Linked DNA regions of Homo sapiens: region 1 is linked to region 2. The links are contacts of gene promoters, found by promoter capture Hi-C in human tissues and cell types (Jung and others, 2019). All regions are on one chromosome and are shown on one strand. The core of a region is centred on a gene start or on the middle of the fragment in contact, and the rest is flanking DNA. Distances in the headings are between cores, read along the strand shown. Region 1 overlaps LOC105376234 (a long non-coding RNA gene). Region 2 holds the start of PAPPA (pappalysin 1).

Region 1 (4,149 bases), core at 1,258-3,757, 390 kb before region 2:
CTTCCATTCTGTGGGTGTTTAATCCATCCCTGACAATGTGACAGTGCTAGAGACTGCAATAAATTGGTGAACAAAGCTGACACAAACCTTTCTTGGAAAATTGATATTCTAACAGGAGAAACACACACATACACAAAAGTAACAATAAAGACAGCAAAGAAGTGCACACATAAAAGTGTTCTGTGAACAGGAGATAAAAGAGGGAATTATAGGGGACCACGATTTAGATAGGGTAGTAATGGAAAGCCATTCTGAGATGATATTTTAGTAGGGACCTCAAAGGTAAGAAAGTGCAACCTCATGAAGAGGCTGAAGAAGGAATATTTTAAGTAAACAGAATGGCATTGGCAAAGGCTTTGAGGGTGGCATAAACTAGACAAGTTTAAGGAGGTGGCTAGAAGAGGAAAAGAGTGGAAAGAATTACCATGGGAGGAGTTGGGAGCTGGGTTATTGCCTCATGTGAAGAACGATTAAGGTAAGCAACAGTGGAGTAGAAATCACCTTTGAATTACTGTCATCACCATCCAGGAGCTGCTGGGCTAAGTTCGTGGCAATCAGTGAGAGAGAGAGAGATGGATGAATCCAATGATAGGCATGAAGACAATTTACAGGGCTTGTTTATGGATCAGTGCATAGAGCCAAAGACGGAAGAATTTTAGGGATGATTCCCAGATTTTTATTTGAGAAACAGGACGGATGATGGAGCCATTTACTAAGAGGAAGATAATGAGGTAGTGCCAAGTTTCGGGAGGAAAATCTAGTTTTATTTTAAATGTGCTAAACTTGAAATATCTGTGAATGATGTAGTCAAAGACAAGAATAGCAAAATTTGAAAGCAAAAAGTAATTCTTTTTCCTGTAGTAAAAAAAAAAATGGATAGGACTCTCAACAAAGTGAACAAAAATGTGTTCAGATCATTTATTTGCTTAAGCTTTTCAATGGCCCTGTTTTTCCTCCTGTCTAAGGATCCTGACACTTGGCTGGGTATTCAAGGCTCTCTGTGGTTTGTCCACAACCACTTCCCCTACTTATCCCACACTGCAACACAACAGACAGTCCCTCATTTTATAAAGTATTCATTTCCAAAATTAGGGAATACCTTTTTCCCTCCTTCTCAGGTACATGTGATCTAAATGGAGTGGTATTATAAGAAAGAAGGGAGTGAAAAACAAAGTATTGTTTTTTCTAATCCATGAATCATTGGTTTATGGACCAAGGCTATTGTATTAAGGCTGATTTTGAAAAGTAAAACATAAATACTTGCTAATCCCCTATTTTTTATTCATTTGTTTCCTTCTCTGCCTCAGCTAACCAGCTCACTGCATTAACTCACTTGGAAAGGGGAAGAATTGGCTACCAAATAAGCCCACTGCTGGATAGGTATGAGTTAAACTCTCAGAACCCTTAGCCCTCAGACCTTCTCTAAGAGGCAGAAATGGGGTTTTTGATGTTAATAGAAATATACTCACTGTGTTTCACTGGGACAATGACCTCGAAAACTCATTGGCTGAATTGCCTATAATATGTTGGGCAGGTACTTGGCACTCTAAGGGGAAGTAATAACAAGGGAGGTGCATTCTTCTTTCTCAGAGAACTTGTAGTATCTGGGAATACAAGGTTGGAAGCTGTCAGTCCCAGGAATAAAGGGCATTTAAATTGTTATCAGAAATAAGATGATGGAGAGAGAACCTTTAGATGAGAATAATATGAAGAGCTTTATGGAAGAGGATCTGTTTGAACTGGGCCTTAAATTATGGATATGATTTCAACAACATGGAAAGAAAGATATTTCAGGAGGAAAGTAGACTGGAACAGAGGCTGGAAGATCAAGTATGTGCTTGTCAAACTAGAAGTAGTTCACTAAGCATGGAAAGTAAAATCTGAAGTAGAAGGTAAGGATGAAAAAAAATTGGTTGAGTCCAGAAGTTAGAAAAACTTGTTGGTTGCTTCTTCCGTATCTAATCCACCAACCTCCACAATTCTGAGCCTGAAAGATTTGATGGGATTAGCTCCACTATCAGTTCTATAGAAGGGGGTCCTGATTAGATTGAATTTATCCTTGTATCCCATTCTCATATTCAAAAGGATTAATCCAGAGATATTAGCTGGTGGGGGGTAAAAGAAGATACTCTTCTATGGGTTTTGAGCAAGCCAACCTCTTTATCTTCAATGCATACTATAGGATATTACTCTCTTTCTCTTGCTGGATGTAGACATGGAAATCTGAAGTTCTAGGACCAGAGGAAAAGTAAATAATAAAAATAATCTGGCACTGAGTAAGCAAGGCTAAAAATTAAAAAGGAGAAGAACTGAGTCCTGACAACATTTTCTTTTGAGCCAGTGGATTAAAGCTTACATGAGAGTATTGCTATTTCTGGACTTTTAAGTTCCATGAGCCAATAAATCCCCATTATGTTTTAAGTCAATTTGACTAGTATTTGCTATTACTTGCCATTCAAAGCATCTTGATACAGAATCCTTGAAAAGTACATTAAACTTTGTTGGCAATAAGAGATCTACTGATATTTGTGTCTCCCAGAGTGCCATAATCTGGAAAGTAATCCTTATGGTAGTGCACAATGCAGAACACCATTAAGTCAGGATAGTCCAAAACAGAGTCCATGAAAGTCAGCCAGTCTTTTAATTTGCGATTAGTCTTATTTTGTTCTCATTCCATGCCTAGTCATTCGACTTCTCTCTTTGTCTCCCAGAAGAGGAAAGGAAGTAATTCTACTTATGTCTTTCCTTGAGAAGAACTACCTCCCTTGGGCTTGGAGCCTGACACTGTTTTTCTCTCTCCCACTGACTCCATAGATGTATTCATTTCTCTTTAGGTATTTAATATAAACCAGATAAGCCACAAACTTATAATAACTTGAGTCAATTTCAATTCTAAGGCAAGTTGAATCTTTAGGGCCAATGCTTCAAGTACAAGATACTGTGATTTCAATGACAATGAAACTGTTTGGGGAATTGCTTTCCCAAACTTTTCTACCAGTGTTTAGATTATAGCATGCAGTCCAGGAGTATATTATGAGTGATCCTCTTGAACTTTGTCAGAAAGTCCTCATAAATCACATTCAAGAAAATATATTTAACTTCCATATACATATATATGAAATTTAAGAACTTGGACAAGTGGAATAAATTCCAAACTGTCAGTTTATAGCAGTAACTTTCTTTTTCAATTTGGAGATTGAAATTTGGGGTGAGAAGGCTCTAATGGAAATAGCATGTTCTCTGAGAAACCAGAGGTGCTGCTTGACTTCTGGAATACTTTATATGGAATGATACCTTATTTTGGAATTTTAGAAAGCCTGAGTTATGGGCCCAGGTATTTGTGGGATTCCACCATATCCCAGCTGCTAAACCTTAGCCTTTTCATCAATGAAATGGGTTTAACATTTCCATTTTATGGTAGACCATAAAAGGAAAATATTCCTGAATAAATAAAATAATATTTACAATTTATTGTGCTGTTACTATGCTTCAGGGGCTGTGTAATAGACATTAGTATTTATCATTTATTTAGCTCTTAATATTTATAAGGTACTAAGTATTCATACTCACCCATTCAAATAATGTAAGTACCAATATTATCATTTTCTAGATAAAAAAGTTGAGGCACAAAAATATGAGGAATTTACCTAAGGTCACACAGGCAAAATATGTGAAAGCAGAGAATCAGAGGGGGGCAGTCTGATTTTTACAGAACCTGTTACTCTTCCTTTTCCTAGTAGCACTGAGAGCTGGGTACTGGGAATATCATTTTATCAGATGAGAAAACTAAGACTCTTTTTGTTTTGTGCTACAATAACAGAATACCGCAGACTGGGCGATTTATGAAGAACAGAAATGTATTTTCTCACAGTTCTGGAGGCTGGCAAGTCTAAGATCAAGGCATCCATATCTGATGAAGGCCTTGTTGCTGTGTCCTCACATGGTAGAAGGCAGAAGGGGAAGAGGGAGATCAATCCTGTGTCTTCACATGGCCGAAGAGAGCGAGAGAGTAAAGCCATTCCTGCAAGCGTTTTTACAGTGGCATTAATCCCTTCATGAGGTGGTATGGTTTGGCTGTGTCCCCACCCAAATCTCATCTTGAATTGTAGCTTGCAGAATCCCATGTGTCATGGAAGGGACCTGGTGGGA
Region 2 (4,173 bases), core at 861-3,360:
GAGGGAGTAGGAAATGAGAAGTAAAAATCTTGTGCTCCCACTGCTGGTCTGAGAATTGAATAATTCCCAGTTGTCTAGGAATATTCAAAATTATTGTATACAATGACTTAAAATCCCCCTGGAAGACATGCAGTTTCTAAATGCCTAATTGCCACAACTGAAGTAAATCAGTAGTCATGGTCCAACCTCTATTGGAGAGGAAGGGGGATTTTGAATGATACAATTTATGTTGTTCAACATAGCTCTCTTTTTATCCAATGGCAACCTTTTACAGATGACTTGGAGTTGCAAAAAGTCAAAGATTTGCTTAGGCAAATTCTTTATTCATGACATTGTGCACCCAAGATTTTCTTTCCTCCAGCCAGTCTCTGGAAACACATTTAGGGTATTGTGCTATTTTCATTTTATGACTACAGAAACAGAGTTCAAACGTTCTTAGTCTAAGACTATTCAGCAACTTCTTTCTAAACTAGGAAGGTATGAATCTGAGATCTCCCATTTTCAGAAAGCTTCCATAATCTTTGCATATATCGCATTCCAGCTTTCATAGAGGGGATGTCTGAGTCATTTGCTCATCCGACAAATCGTCATACTTTTGCCAACAAACATTCTTCCTTGGTTTTCTCTCTTCCTGAAGCGTGTAGCAATGTTCCTAGCTCTCAAGAAAGATCTGGAGCAGCTCGGAAGATAAGAGCAATTGAAGAAGAAAGTTACAATTTAGTGGAGTTAATTTTATCGCAGACTTTCAGCACGCTATTCACATGCAAACTTCACACAGAATATTTTTATCACTACCTTATTGGAATAGATTGGTAATTAATAGCTTGTAATCCACCATTGCTAACATGTTTTGACTTATTAAACACTTGGACAAAATAAAAGAAGATCTGTTTTGCCATAAGGGGGAGCTTTTGAGTTCTATAAAGAGGGGGAAAAAAGAAGAAAAAAATATATTACATGTATGTCCCAGTTCAAAAACAGACCTACAAAGCAGCAAATGGTCAGATCCTTACCTGTGACTTTAACAATTTCAGAGGACCTGAATTGCTTAAGTTGAAAACATTAGGCAAATTAATATTTTTCTCTCATTTTCTTCTTATAAAATTAAAATAATTTCTAATGACCAACAGAGTATTTTAAAGAGTATTCGGGGAAATTCAGAGACCCAGTTGTACTAGGACTACAGCTTCTGAAAGGCAGATGTCCTGGACAGTGCCTTTCTTCTATTTTCTTCTGATGATTCCATAAGAACTTTGGAAACATTTGGGTTAGCTGAAGCCAGCCTTATCTGGGGGCTCAGAAAAGAGGGGAATGGTTCATCATCGTACAACTTTAAGGAAATTCTGAGAGGGAAAAGGACAGGGAAAAGAAGAGGGAAAGAGGTAAAGGGAGAGGAAGCGGGAAGAAGAGTAAGGGAGAGAGTGAGAAAAAGAGAAAGAGAGGGAGAGGGAGGGAGGGAGAGACAGAGAGAGAGAATTAAAAAAAAAAATCTAAGAATCAAGTTTCAAGACTCTTTATGTGCTACAGAAAAGGATGAGGTTTACCAGCAAAGTGCAAAGGGGATCCTAAGAGAAGAGACAGATTTTTCTCCTGCCATCAGAAATAATAATAATAAGTGGGGGGAGTGAGGGAGGGAAAAAAAGCAAGCAAAACAAAACAAAAACAGGAATGTGTGTTTTGAGCAGGAATGAGAGCTGGGAGGACCGTAAGGGGGTGTGTACAGAATTTCATTAAATTGTTACTTTAAGATTGTCTCCTTAAAAAAAAAAAAAAAAAAAGAGAGAGAGAGAGAGAGAGAAAAGGAGGGGGTGGTGGAGAAGCGGGAGCGAAGGAAAGGAGGCAAAAGGCAAAGTGAAGGAAAGCTGGATAGCTCGGCCTCTCCAAACTGATTGATTAGTCATGATCCCCGCAGTTTTAACAGGGACTCATTCAATTGGGAAGGTGGAGCGCTGGGGAGCAGATTAGCATACGCTTGTTTACTCATCTTCTGAGGGATTTTTTCCCCCTCTTTCCTTTCATTTTGAGAAGAAGGAGGGAGGGGAGGGGGGACTTGGGGGGGGAGAAGGGGGCTGTGGCTTGTGTTATAAAGGACGCAAAAAATAAATAAATTAGAGCATCTTTTGGGGGGAGGGAATTCAGCGGATCAGTCTTAAGAGGAGCTTTTTTTTGGAGCGAGAAATCATATAAAATAAAATGAAATAAAACAAGGAGGAAGGCAACCAGCTGTTAGGGGAAAAATAAGGCAGATAAAGGAGCGGGGAGAGAAATTAATTGCCAACCAGGAGGAGTTGGGCTGTATTTTTCAAAGGTGGGGAGAGTGGAGCACACACCTTGAGGAGGAAAGCGAGAAAGAAAAGAAAAAAGCAAGTGGAAAGGGGGGCTCGCCCAAGAAGGGTGAAGAAGCGAAGAAAGTCGAGGCGCCGAGGCTCCCAAAGCTGGCAGCTCCGGGTGGCGGTGCAGGGGCGAAGGGGGGGCGGGGGGAACCGTCGGACATGCGGCTCTGGAGTTGGGTGCTGCACCTGGGGCTGCTGAGCGCCGCGCTGGGCTGCGGGCTGGCCGAGCGTCCCCGCCGGGCCCGGAGAGACCCGCGGGCCGGCCGACCCCCGCGCCCCGCCGCCGGCCCGGCCACCTGCGCCACCCGGGCGGCCCGCGGCCGCCGCGCCTCGCCGCCGCCGCCGCCGCCGCCGGGCGGTGCCTGGGAAGCCGTGCGCGTCCCCCGGCGGCGGCAGCAGCGGGAGGCGAGGGGCGCCACCGAGGAGCCGAGCCCGCCGAGCCGGGCGCTCTATTTCAGCGGGCGAGGCGAGCAGCTGCGCCTCCGGGCCGACCTCGAGCTGCCCCGGGACGCGTTCACGCTGCAAGTGTGGCTGCGAGCGGAGGGGGGCCAGAGGTCTCCGGCAGTGATCACAGGTAGGTGAGGGCGCCTCGGCGGGCGCTGCACCGTCCCTGCGGCCCCAGAGGCTCGCGGGTGTCTGGGCGCGGGTGGCGGGCGGGTCGGGGGCTTGCGGGCGTGTCTGTGCGAGAGCTGCCCCGCGAGCGGCGCAGAGACATCCGGGCGAGCTGAGAGCCTCACTTTGCTCCATCGGTGGAATGGGCACACTCGGAAGGCGTAGCTGCTCCATCCCTGGGAGGAACCTGGGGAGCCCTCCTGGCGGCCCCGCGGACCCTCGGCCAGTGAGGGCTGGTTCCCGGAGCCTAGGGCACGTAACCCGTGCTCCGAATGGTCAGATGCACTCTCTCCTTTTGGGATGAAAGGGAGGATGACCCAATTGAGATGCATGTGAAAGGAGACTTGGGGACCGTTGATTTCTTTGACGTTTTAATGGAGGTAACTCCCCTTCATTAGGCCCCATTCCCCTGAAAGCCGGCAAGGGCAAGGTTGTTGTAATGGCCAGGACTTAGAAGTCCTCGAAGTGCCCCAAAGTTGCTCACTGATTGAAGCCTGCCTCTGGGACTCACCCTCACCCCCTCCACGCCATCCCATGTCCTAGCTTTTAAAGCCCATTGCCTGTCACTCGGGGCTGGGACGAGACCTTCCTAACGCATACCCCGCCAGCGTTCCCCAGACGCGGCTGCGAAACGGGGCGCTTTTCTCATATGGGACTTTATGAGCCCGTAATGAATTTGAGTTCTCCCTCCTCAACCTCCCTCTCTCTCCCCTTCGCTGTTCCACAGCAAAGCCTATAGTGAAATCGGACACTTTGCGAGGATTGCAAACCTTAGAAATGCTCCAGCATCCATTTTCCCCCCTCTAAATGAATCTGTGGAAATGCCTTTAATAAAACTGGGGAGCGGAGGTGGGGGCGGCGCTGGAAGAGAGGAGGAAAGTTTTGCCTTTTCTGTCTGGGAGATTCCCTTTCTGCACAAACAATCTTGCCATGTCCTGGGACGTCTTAAAGTGAGAGTAGGGGTTCCCCCTTCACTGCAGCCAGGAAACGTGTGAAGGCGTTTTGCGATCCCACCCCCTCACACACACACTTTCTTAGAAGGGAAAGCTGTGAGCTCTCCGGGCAGTTCTGCTTCTTCCTGTCTTTCCATGGCTTGGACTTTCACAGATGTAGCACTGACTATCCAGTTGACATGAAGACCCCTTTAGGAGACCCACACTCTGCTGCTATCCCAAGAATACGTCTCCCGAAGCCCCCGCTTTCCAGCTATCAAAGGAGAGCGATACAG

The links. Contacts are between HindIII fragments. The study calls those that stand out against the background at their distance.
Region 1: a fragment that was not itself captured here is called in contact with the fragment with the promoter of PAPPA in region 2 in 3 of the 25 tissues and cell types used here (H1 embryonic stem cells, IMR-90 fibroblasts and mesenchymal stem cells).

The regions. Positions count from the first base shown.
Region 1 is chr9:115,758,944-115,763,092 of GRCh38, forward strand. All of the region lies in intron 2 of LOC105376234 (a long non-coding RNA gene), which reads left to right. Among named protein-coding and RNA genes, the nearest start is that of LINC00474, 160 kb to the right of the region's middle. The HindIII fragment of the contact is 4,498 bases long and covers 259-4,149 here.
Region 2 is chr9:116,151,681-116,155,853 of GRCh38, forward strand. PAPPA (pappalysin 1) reads left to right here and starts at 2,111. Exons shown (of 22, transcript NM_002581.5): 1 at 2,111-2,907. The coding sequence starts at 2,493. RefSeq lists a silencer at 3,888-3,977. The HindIII fragment of the contact is 11,414 bases long and covers 1-4,173 here.